Regions from separate parts of the Homo sapiens genome. Here region 2 is linked to region 1. Evidence: promoter capture Hi-C in 16 types of primary human blood cells and fetal thymus (Javierre and others, 2016). All regions are on one chromosome and are shown on one strand. Each heading gives the region's core, a stretch centred on a gene start or on the middle of the fragment in contact. The rest is flanking DNA. Distances are from core to core; before and after follow the strand shown.

The links. The method cuts DNA at HindIII sites, captures the fragments that hold promoters and counts their contacts. A CHiCAGO score of 5 or more calls a contact.
Region 2: a contact is called between a fragment that was not itself captured here and the fragment with the promoter of SATB1-AS1 in region 1, in 1 of 17 cell types (non-activated CD4 T cells). The highest score is 5.1, in non-activated CD4 T cells.

What each region holds. Positions count from the first base shown.
Region 1 is chr3:18,443,043-18,449,227 of GRCh38, reverse strand. It overlaps SATB1-AS1 (SATB1 antisense RNA 1), which reads right to left and starts at 3,991. Exons shown (of 7, transcript NR_125803.1): 1 at 3,786-3,991. It also overlaps a transcript of SATB1 not described here. RefSeq lists a silencer at 3,866-4,085. The HindIII fragment of the contact is 8,267 bases long and covers 1-6,185 here.
Region 2 is chr3:16,894,886-16,901,070 of GRCh38, reverse strand. The region is part of intron 1 of PLCL2 (phospholipase C like 2); the gene reads right to left. Among named protein-coding and RNA genes, the nearest start is that of PLCL2, 13 kb to the right of the region's middle. The HindIII fragment of the contact is 3,647 bases long and covers 3,034-6,185 here.

The DNA.
Region 1 (6,185 bases), core at 2,742-5,241:
CTGGCAGGTTATCATATGGACAAGGATTACTACCAGTAGCAGTAGTCTGCAGAATTGTGTACCACAGCTCTCTACTGTTGGGTACAAGATAGGCTGCACTATCCGACCTTCTTGTCATGATTCTTTGGAGCCACACAACTAATCCTGGTTAATTCTTTGTGAGGCCATATGATGTATGGCATTTCTGGGCCATAGCATTTAAATGTCTGCATGAAACCCTCCAGAGTGATCTTTATTTTTGCCATAACAACATGAAACATTCAAGATGGCAACTGTTCCATTAGCCAGGGACCTGGAGTGACAGACATGGAACAGACCAGCTGAACTGCAATGGATTCAAACCATAACCAAGAAAACGTTTGCTGTTACAGGCCACTAAAAAATTGGAATTGTTACTCCAGCACATTGCCTATCTTGACTGATAAACAAATTTGTTCTGTTTGGCTGCAACTGGCAGGACGAAGACTAACGGTTGGAAGTTTCAGGAAGACTAATTCTGTGCAATATAAGGTAAAAAAATATATATAAGGTAAAAACATAATAAAGTATATAAAGATGAAATACTTTTGAAATTATCCATTCACTTGCACAATATATAGTGAACTCTATTCTCTGGTAAGTACGGTATAGGTAAAAATCCTTGCCTTAATGGCGGTAAGTAGTAAGTTCCCCTTCACACCCAAAATATCTGCATTGAATGGCCTCTAAAGATTTGACAGAACAAATTAACTTTAAAAATACCTTCCAACCTAGAGCTTTAGGATCTCTGATTCCTCTGGTCTTAAGAGAAAAATATGTACATATATATATATATTTTTTCTTCCTCAAGTATTTCTTTGATTCAAACCACTAACTGATCCATTGTCTTTTCACATTTTGATGTCTTTTTTCCAGCAAATAACTTCCTTCAAGGCCAATGCTGTTTTATCCTTTCCCTTGATCTTTCTTCTAATATTTAGTAGGCAATATTTTATTGTCTATTCTTTTAAGGAAATAACCAGTGCAGCTTTTGATACCAGCTACTATTATTGGCCATTTGATATGTTCCAGATTTGTCTTTCAGTCATTTAAGTCACATTTGGACTTGTTAAAAAAATCTAGTAGCACAAATGTATTATTGTGTTAGTTCATTTGAGGTGCTACAACAAATTATCTTTGACTGGGTAATTTATAAGCAACAGAAATTTATTGCTCACAGTTCTGGAAGCTGAGGAGTCCAAGATTACAGCACCAGCAGATTCAGTATCTGGTGAAGGCTCACTCCTTGCTTCACAGATGGCACTTTTGTTGCTGTGTCCTCACACAGTGGAAGGGGCAAGGTAGCTAGATTCAGCCTGTCTTACAAAGGCACTCCTGTCACTCATGAGGGTTGAAGCCTTCATGACTTAATCACTTCCCAAAGGCCCTACTTCTTAATACCATCACTTTTGATATTAGGTTCTAACACATGAACCCCAATATTGGGGGAACACTAACATTCAGACCATAGCAACTAACCAAATAATCCAGATTAAATGCCCCTTTCTTCTGAAAAATGATCTTAGCCTTGTGCTATGAAATTTGTGGCCAACTACAATATTTTATTAACATCTGAGCTGTAAGGCTTAAGAGTTTATCAAACTATGTCATTTAATGCACTGCACCCAGAATTGCATAATTCTGTATTCTAACAGAGCCCATGTGCTTTCTATACAAGACTATTGGGAGGAAAAAGCAAATTCAAAAAATGAGGGGCAAAATGGTCTCGGTTCAACTCAGAGGAGCATATCATACTTTCAGTTATAGGGGCTTGGCTGATAACTTGGGGAAGCAGATGAGTATATAAGAGTGTAAGAAAGAAAAAAAAACCTTTTTTAAAAATTTCAAATTTCTGTTCAGCTTCATTTCAGGCTTTCAGAATTGGAAAATCAACTGCCTGCTACAATAAATTACTGTTAAGCAGTAATTAAATACCGAGAATGTATTTTTTTCCATTCCAAACCTGATGTCTTTCTCAGACACAGATATTGTTACTGGTTAGGAAATGCAGCATTTTGGTAAATTAAGGCAGGAGGATTTAATGTCTCCTGGGACCTGTGGGGACAGAAAGTGATCCAAGAAGGAAAACGTTTTACTATGTTTTGCTCATTATAATCATTTATACCTTTTTGCTTTGCTTTACAAAACTAGGAGTTGTGGTGGGCACTTGTATCTTTAAAAAGGAGGGTTGGTTCCCTAAAAGAACCCTAATTCATAATTTTAAAAAATTCCTATATGTTTGGAATTGTGGTCTCGGCATAAAATGATGATCAACTGAAAAAAGATGAATAACTTCCAGTGAATTCAATAACCATGGATGAGGGGAAAAAAGCAGCATGAATACATGCTGTATTCTCCTTTATTTAGAAAAAGCACACAAAAATACAGCAGAGTTGATGTGTTTGTCACCAGGGCTTGAAAGTCGAATCAACCACTGTGTAAAAGATAAAATAAGACTGCACGGATATCAGGATTTTCCCAGCGTGCTTTATTCATAGCCATCTGACACAACAGGACCTAACAGAGCTTTTAGGAAAAACTGAATTCTCAGCCCACAATCACTTTCCAGGAACTTCCCTGCAAACAGTGCTGTGCGCTGGCAGGATGGAAATCTTAGCAATCTCCCTCCTGCTTCCATAGTTTCCTCCTCTCTAAATAAAATTATTTATGGGGACTTAATGAGAGAGCAAGCCTTGTGTGAAAGGAATTCAAGAAAGTGCGGCTTCTAAAAATACACCTAGGCAGCTCTACAGTCCTTATTGTTACAACCTGACGTTTTGCAGTTCATGCCATGAACCTAACTACACTTCTTGCCAAATACACACAAGCGTACAAAGAAGAGGAAAAGTAAAAACTATGTTACTATGTTTTATCTTTCTGCAATCCCTTTGAGTAAACAGTAGTAATTTTCTGTTGACATACTCAATGCAAATTTCCCAAAGGCTACACAATACAAAACAAAAGACCTGTTAGCTTCCTCAGAGCTGGGGGGAGGAGAGGCAGGGGGAGAGAAATAAAGTTGATGGAGCTCCAGTTTCTCCTAAGCCTGCAGTCCTGAGCCTCCAGTCACCCTAGTCTTTTTGTAGAGATTTTTTGAGTTTCAGTCTCCACTTGGGAAGGTTCCTTGGCCCCTTCTCTCCCAATGTCAATAAAACCCTCATCTCTCCCGCTTTGCCCCCAGCTTTTTGGGGAAATTGGACCTTGCCTAGGCGTCTTGTTCCAGTGGGTTGAAAAGTACAGCTGGTGATGTGAGGATAAATATTTAAACTAATGGGCTGGGTCACAGCGTGGGGGTCTTCAAGAGAGGGCCTCCTCCTCCTTCCGCCACGTGCTCCTCACTTGGGGTGCAGGGCTCCTGGACAAGGGGCTAAGACGGACGAGGGTGGGATGAAGGGAGATGGACAGACCAGACTGTAAGTGAAGGAGGCCCTCTAGGAAACATCGTCTCGACCGAACATTGACGGAGAAAAAAAAAATGGCCCAAATGCCCCTAGTGGGGAAGCATACACCCCACGCAGGCTGGGTTGGGGTGGGGGTGCTTCGCGGCCTCTCACCTGACTTCCTCCTCCGCCTGCACACACACTACAGTAACCCCCTCTACTCACCCCCCAAAACCCAGCCAAACAACAAGCAACAAGAGGAAGCCGCAGGCGACAAGAGGAGGAGTGCGCGTGTTGGGGGCCCCCGGAGAGGTGAGGGGGCAGGGTTGGCGGGCGACGAGAACCGCGCCGCGCACCCCAAGCGCACCCCCAAGCGCCCACACTTACCCCTCGAGGCTGAGGGTCCTGTCTTCCGCGCCAACCCCCGTGTGCGCCCCCTGGCCCGCCCTCGCCCCTCCGGCCCGCCGCCCCCCACACCCCGGCCGGCGCGCTGGGAGGGAGCCCGGGAGCGGTGCGCAGCAGCGGCGGCGGCGGCGGCGGCTCGGGCTCGGCTCGGCTCGGGCTTCAGTGCGCCTAGTGTCGCCAGCGGCCGCCGAGGCTCCCACCGCCAGGGGGAGAAGCCGGGCGGGCGCTGGGGAGGCGGGCCGGGCCCTGGCCGCCCCGCTGGCCAGCCCGCGCCGCACAAGCTCCGAAGCGGCGGCTACGCGGGGTCCGCCGAGCCCCCGGGCGCAGCGTGCCCGGTCCGAAGCGCCACGTCTGGATGCGCGTCCCGGGTGGCTGCGGGCTCCCGCGGGGGACGCCCCGGCCGCTCCGGTGCGCCTCCAGACTGCAGGCGCCGCGACCGACGAGACGAGAGCAGCTCCCGCCGGCCCCTTCCCCCTCCCGCCCCCGCCGCCGCCCCCTCCCCCTTCTCCCCCCCCCGCCCGTTAACATCTCCTCCCTCCCCCTCCTTCTCTTCCTTCCCTTGGCCCCGCGCGCTCGCTCGCTCGCTCCTCGCCTCGCTCTCCCCTTTAAACGCCCACTTCGTATGGGGAAAGAGGACAACTTGAAGTCAAGTTGCAATTAACTTCCGCGGCAGCCGCAGCTCCGGCGGCGGCGGCGGCGGCAGGAGAGGCAGAAGCCGCCGCCTCGGAAGTCCGACGCCGGCGCGCCCGCCCGGGGAGCCGTTCTTGGTTTCAGGCCCGCACTCGACAGCCACCGCCGCCCCCAACGTCCATGCCTGAGTGAGTTCTGCTCTTTTGCCTCCCTTTTCCCCTTGCTACTCTTGCTGTTTTATCTCTGTCCCTCTTTTTCCGGAATCAATCCAAACTTCTCCGTAGCACCCACTCCTCGTCCCCTATTGGGGCGGCTGGGCTCCCCTCTCGTGGGCGCAGGGCTTCAACGGTCTTCCGAGCCCCTTTTCTCACGCAGACGGACCTTGGAGGGGTGGGCTGGTAGAGTAGGGGAGAGCGGTCGGGATGGGGGATTTGAAGATGCCATTCGTTTTCTGTCTGGGTGTGGACACACCACCACACCTGCCCAATAGACCCTGGCTGAACAAACTCCTTCAGGTCACCGGTATGGCCCCTTTTAGAAAAGGAAAGGGGAGTGGAAAAGACCGAAGGAAGCAAATGGGGAAAAGGGGAGCCTCTCGGTGCGTTCTGGAGCCGGGCGGGCAGTAAGGTGCCTGGAGGAGTGGGCTGCGGGAGTGGTAATGTTCCCCCACCGGATCGCGAGTCTGCTCAGCATCCTTTCCCGGTCCATCTCCGCCTCCCTCCGCTCCCTGCCTGCGCGGCTGATTGTAAGCATCGGCGAAGAGGGGCCTGGGAAGTTTGTGGCAACTTCTGCATCCCGGGAGCTACTCGGGCGCCGGGGCGCTCAAGTTGGAGCCCGGAGTTTGAAAGCCGCGGCACTCCTCATTTCGAGCCCTCGCTGGCTGTAGCGAGGCCGGTCCTGGAGAGGCTGCTGGCGTGAATGTGGGTTTGGAGTTGGGCAAGAGGCAGAAGAAAGGGCCGTCCTCTTAGCAGGGGCCGGGACATCACAGGTGCAGCCTCGCAGTCCACACCGTGTTTCCCTCCTGCTGTCCAGACCCGAGCGCGGTGGCCTTTTCCTATTGCTCCAGTGCTAAGGCTCCCGGGCCGGCAGAACCGGGGTTTGGGAAACCACGACGAGAAGGACGAAGCAGGCAGGTGGCAGGTCCGGGGAGTGCCACGTGCTTACTGGGGAAACGCAGTTTCCTCTTGGGATGACCTCAGAAGACCAACAGGGGAAAGGGGCATAGGGATCTCCTTGAAAGTTTTGGCCTTGGCCTCCACTGAGGTGTTGCAAATTTCACTAACAAATGTCAACCACAGGGTCCTCTCTCAAAGTGTCCTGGTTGGCAACTTTGACCTCTGCGCCCTTCCTTGGCGAACTTTCTCAGTGGCATTCCGGACTTACAAGCAAATGTTCTAAGACTTGGACTCCACATGGTTATAAAAGAGACAGGGAAAACAGAAGGATGCCCTATTCCCCAGAGAGAACCTTACTGCTCTGACTGACTGGGTTTCCATGTTTGCATCCTTGGAGGCCAGGGGACCTGACTTTCTCAAGGGGGTGGCGGGTAGGGTAAGAATGAGTAAAATGTTACCGCTCGGTGTCAGGTTTTGTCCTAAGCAATCTGAAATTTACGGTGTTTGTACTGCTGACAGAGTAACTCATCCCGTTGAAACTTAGTTGAAATTTACACTCTATCCAAAGTGGATTTTTCTGAGATGTCAGGAATGTGAGATTTATTCTGTGGTCAAATGTAGCTGCAAAAATCAAAAA
Region 2 (6,185 bases), core at 3,608-6,107, 1.5 Mb after region 1:
AAGTAACAGTGGGCCAGCAACACACAATCAAGGCGTTAAACTTCAGTTCCTTTCACAGAAGAAAAACAACTCTTTGGTTTCTCAACTAGCAAACAATTCACCACCTCAAACAGTGCCACTCCAAGATTATCTTTTGATGATACTGAGTTTCCATTTTTGAAGTGAGAGAGAAATGAATTGCTACCTTCCCAATTTACACGTATAAAATGTGAGAAGGTACCCAAGTGGCATGGAGAGTAACCAGCAGATCTGAGTCCAAAGCCCAACCTTGCCAAAGTCTAGTGTGACCACGTGTATTTTACATGGGCCTCAACTTTTTCACCTGCAAAATGGAGGCCACTGATGATGTCCACCGAACGGGAGCATTGTGAGAGCCCACTAAGCTGATGTTAAAGGTGGTCTTGCAGGGATGAAAGAGCTATGCAAATATGAGGTGTTATTAGCATACAAACTAACTTTCCCAGACTTTTTTGGTTATGAAGTTTTTTGCATTTTTATAACATCTTGCTTCAGGAGCTTTAAAAACCTTTTAAAACATCAGGATAATAATCCTAATGAAATGAGCAAATCAACATATAGCTTTATTTCAATATACTGTAGAGAGAATACGGTGAGATACAGAGTTTAACTGATTTTCTTAAAAGTCAAAATGCATGCTAGATATAAAGTTTATAGCTTCTTTCTTCTGAATTTGATATGCTCTATGAGGAAAACAAGGATGATTTGTAATTTTATCAGTTAAAATTTTTATTGTCTTTTTAAGTCTAGTGACAATACTAAACACACAGAAATAACTGTTTAAATTAATCTTATTGCCCTGACTTCTTAAATTCTTCTCTGAATTTTTACCTCTGTCAAGAAGAAAAAATGAAGGTTATTTTCTTTAGTAAACAGTCACTGCTACCTCAGTAACAGAATTCTTCAAGACTCTGAGATTAAGATCTCAACAGTCTTATCCAGGTAGCAACTAAAACAATCGTGCCCAACCCACCCAAGTTCAGAGTGCTGAAAACTAATACAAATGATGGACTGGGCCTGCAGTTACATGTTTCCATTTAAAAGGGTAATTAAACCAAAGCCACAGTGAACCAAAATAAAAATAAAAAACTAAAACATGATATTCAAAAAAGCAAAGCAGGGAATGTTGAAAAGAACATTTCAAATAAGAGATGGGAAAAAGTAAACGTGCCCTCTAAAATAGGATAGTTTCTTGTTAGGGTGTTTTGACGGGGGGCGGCGGGGGGGATATTTTAATGGATTTATTAGCAAATTTTCAGGAACAGCACAGATCTTTCTCACATAAATAATCAAATCAACAGCAAAATAGCAAAAACTGAATCATTCAGACCAAGAGCTCTTCCCAAGATCCATACAGGTTTTACTTACCATGTCAGTCATGCGAAAAGTACTTGCCCTGGTCCCGAAAAGACATACAAGAAATCAAGCAGACAAGATTTCACGCACTTTTTACAGAAAAAAGAGGAGAAAACACAGTCTTCTGGACACATTTAACACTTCAACCAAGCAGAGGTGCAGACCCGAATCAGAACTCATGACTCTCAAGTTGCAGCTCTTGGTCTCCACAGGCCAGCTCCCCAACTAGTGTCCAGGTCTCTGGTGTGAACTTCTGCACAGAAATTCAGGGAATTCAGCCTCTGTACCTACTTGATACTCTGTTGTTGCTGTTTTCAAACATGACCCCAATGGGCTGCTCTGTTTAGATACAGCAGAAAAGCCTAAGGCTGGACTAACAGTCCTCTCTATGTAGAAAAGCAGCCCTCTTGTGAAGGTAGATGCTCAACTGTTCCTCTCCCTGCTGAGACGCTCCATCCATATACAGGCTAAGCTGTCTGCTGGTGTTGTTTCCACAGTGGCCACAGCTCCATGACATGCCTTGAGGCCAAGATTCAACTCACCACTAAAGTGAGAATCATGGTGCAAAGGGCATCCCCTCGATAGTGACAGATACACAGCACTCTGCAGCTTACTGTACCTTTCCTTGTTCCTCCATTCTTCTCTCTACCACCTTTTGAAGCACAACCTCCTGACAAACACGCCCCAGCACAGCACTAATGGTTACTGCCAAGTATTACTGCCAAATGGCCTGCCAAGGCGTGGGTCCCCGCAACCCCCTCCCCCTCCACCCTCCAACCCCTGCCACAGCTGGCTGGGGCCTCTGGCCCCAAGCAATCTCCTCATGTTATCTAGACAATTATATCATTTTCCATGTGTGACCTGGTGTGGAAAGGTTTTAAGTGCCATTTTGGAACATAACTAATAGATCCCGTGGTCCCTGTTGTTCCCAGGAATGACGGCCCTGAGAGTTGCCAAACTGTATCTGGGGACAGCTTTATCAAGCCCTGTTATTTTGGTGGTATCTTCTAAGCCATCCTCCACCTTGTCTTACTTTACTGTCTGGCAACCAGTAATGATGAGGACAGGTCAGGGCCACTGCCACAGAGGCCACACATCTCACCAACTTCCCAGTAAGGAGCCCAGTAGAACGCTTGCTATGTGGCTATGTGCCTGTTTCTCTCGCACTATTTCACTCTCTTGCTTCCAGACCCCTCCGGGTAGCATTCATACCCGGCAGCTATTCCTTAGGACAAAAGGGCTATTTAACTATTTTAAAATCTTTTTCAACAATACTTTTTTTCCTAACAATGAAGATGGGTAAGATCTGGCTAATTATGCTGTAGGAAAGGAAACCTCTCTTATTCTTCACTTGGTAAATATTACTGAGTACTGAATGTTCCAAAAAAAAAAGGCTGTAGATTTTCTCTCCCCAAAGAATATTAAAGTTCATTTCTACTACACCTCCCATTTAGAATACGTAAATAAAACTGCCTGTCAAAGGTATATGTGTTAACAATTGTGTCACAATCAAGATAGGGACAGCTTGAGAAAACTTTGCTGCTGCCAAACTGTTGGTGCCTCTCCGGCCTCTAAACAGGGGTCTCCAAGGACTTGGCCTTCCCCTCAGGTCACTACTCTTCCTTGGTGCCTACTCAAGACAAGTGAGGGGCACAAGCTTCTTGGCTAGAAGACTCATCCTTGTCAATGTGGAAGAGAAAAAAAAAATGACCTAAAAAAATAAATGGGAATGACAACCTCTAATAATTTGTGCAGTCCAGTTGAGGAGAAAATGAGTACACACTGCATAACTAAGGTTACAAACAAGTAACGACTGAAATCTTCATGTTACTGCTTTGCAGCCAATAAAATATGTTTTATAGATGCCTCAGGAGTTCAATGTTCATTCCTCTTTACCGCGAAGGTCAGCATGGCAAGAGGAAAATGCTCTAGCATTCAGAAAGTACACATTCACGCAAAGGTCATGACGTGCCAACCCAGATGTCAGCCCACCCTCGGGCGGAGCACTGGAGCATCACCAGATGGTTCACATCCTCCCCGCATAAATCACCCTTACAAACAGACACCTGTCTGGCAAGTGCCGATTTATAATCTTCTGTGAGTAAACAGCGTTTTTACTACACTCATTTAGCAAAGTGAAACATCCAATCACCTCTCTCTAGAAATAGTGCTAGTGCCTCTGCCAAACTAATTCTTTCTAAAGACAATTTTTCCTAGGGAGGCTCCTCCTTCATGCTGCAGAATGCCATGGGTACACCTATATAGTTTCTCTTGTGAGGGATGGACAAGAGCCCAGGGACTCGCCAGGAACTACAGGGACTAGGAGCTGCACAGTAATGATTAATCAAGGGGGATTAAGGCTCCAAATAACCAACCCAGGGCCTTTTTTTTTTTTAATTGACATAATTTTTACCTTTACCTAGATCAAAAAAAGACACATAGGGCAGACTGTCATTTTCACATATAAAATCTATTTCTCCAAATTTTACTAAGGAATTATTCCCCTTCATTGACATTTTATATCCCCTCCAAAAAAGGGCAGCTCGACTCCCTTAAAGAAAAACTCCACCGCGGCAAGTTAAGGTTTAATCCTGCCCCCTACACCCCACCAGCCACATGCTCACCAACTATCATCTGCAGGATTCCGGGAGCTGTTTGTTCTCTCATATCTAACAGAGCTACACAGGGAAGTCGAGAACCCAACATATAAGAAAGGTTTCACAGCTGTTGTTAACCCTGGCTATACTTTAAAATCTCCCAGGGCACTTTAGGAAACCCCCAGAGGTTCTGATTCAATTGCAGCCAGGTGGGGTCTTCACATTAGTATGTTTTAGAATCCAGGTAATTCCAATGTGTCTTAAAATGACCCATCTGAAGATTATTTCCCCTTCGTCCTTTCCTACCCAAAAGAATATTTAGATTAGGCAGAATAAGTGTTCAGTAGAGCTAAAACTCTCTGTTGACCGACCACCTGAGATCCTAGGTATGCTATTACTTAGCAGTGATCAAACAACTCTCCATTTTGTCCGTATATCTGGATAACTGGTTTTGCTCTGTTAACTGCTTTTGAGACCAAAAAGCTCTATCTAGAAAACTGTTATGTGAAGAGCAGGTGCTCCACAAACGAGTGGTTCTCAAAGTTTTATTATGAGCAGCACATTTTCAAATATTAAAACTTTCGAGTGCACCTGAAGCTCAAAACTACACTAAACAAATCATAAAAACTCCAAGCAATCACGACTGCAGTGTAAGATGACTGCAGTGACCAACACACTCTTCACTAATGTGTCAACTTTCCACCCAGGCCCAGCTCCTTTTGTGCTTTCAGTATATTCCAAGGAAGATCCAGTCCTCAGGCTCTTCCAGCAAGCTGCCCCTCTCTCCACCCACCCCCTCTCCAGGCCATCAACTAGTGCAGGGCTTTAGCAGGTCTCACCACGTACAAGTGTCCACAGCAGCAGAAATGTTTCACATGCTGATCCACAGACAGCAAAAAACTGTAAAAGGCACGGCCCTAAATAGTGCAGGAGGAAGTAACCAATTGGTATCTGAGTTTGATTAATGTTCACAATTTAATTGTTTGAATAAACTTAATTTGTTGCAGTATGATAGACTTCCAGAAAAAAAATCCTAAGTGTAAAACCTAATGGATTTTTACAAAGTAAACCCACATTTGGAATCACCAACCAGATGCAGAAACCAAACATCACTGGCACCCAGTAGGACCCTTGCTTCCTCCCTCAATTATTATCCCCAAGTGTAACCACTATTATAACTTCTACCACTCCAAATTAGTTTAGCTGCTTTTGAACTTTATATAATTATAATCAAAAATATGTATTCTTTTGTGGCTGGTTTATTTCCCTTAGCATTATGCTTGGGAGACTCAAGCAGTGCATAGGGCAGTCATCTGCTGTTTCTGTTCTTTCTTCCTTTTCCTCATAGGATTCCACTGTATGATACGCTATTTTATAAGATAGGCATTTGAGTTGTTGCTTTCAATTTGGGACTGTTAGAATTAATGCTGCTTTAAGGACTCTTGGAAATGTCTTTCAATATACATATGGAGTAACTCCTGTTAGGTATATACCTAGCCAGAAAGACAGTGTGGTAAGTATATAAGGACTTTATGTGTATGTAACAAAATAGACTCCAAAAACAGACCCATACATAAATGGCCACTTGATCTAGGATCGAAGACCAATGCAGTGCAGTGGGAAAGAGATTCTATTTTCAAATAAATGGTGCTGAATTAATTGGATATTTATATGGAAAGAAAATCTTTAACCCTACCTCACACCACACACACAAAATGAAATCCAGATCTAAACATGAAAAATAGAACAATAAGACTCCAGTGGTTAAATAAATGACTATCTTCATAGAATTAGGCTAAGTAAACATTTCTGAAACAGGACTCAAAAATAATAACCATAAAGAAAAATACTGATACACTGAACTTCTCTAAAATTAAGAATTTTCATTAAAATATACCCTTTAAGACAGTGAAAAAGCAAGTCACATACTAGAAGACATTTTCAACATATATCTATATCGATATAGATACATGTTTCAACATATATCTATATCGATATAGATACATGTTTCAACATATATCTATATCTATATAGATACGTGTTTCAACATATCTATATATGTTGAAAATGTCTTTTGTGATATATCACAAAACATATATATCATCTGAATAATTACATTGGCATTTAATATAAGCTATTAGCACGGATTGATAGAAATAAAAATCTAAGCGATATCCTTTATTTTCTTCAATAATAAACATTAAACCATATAAA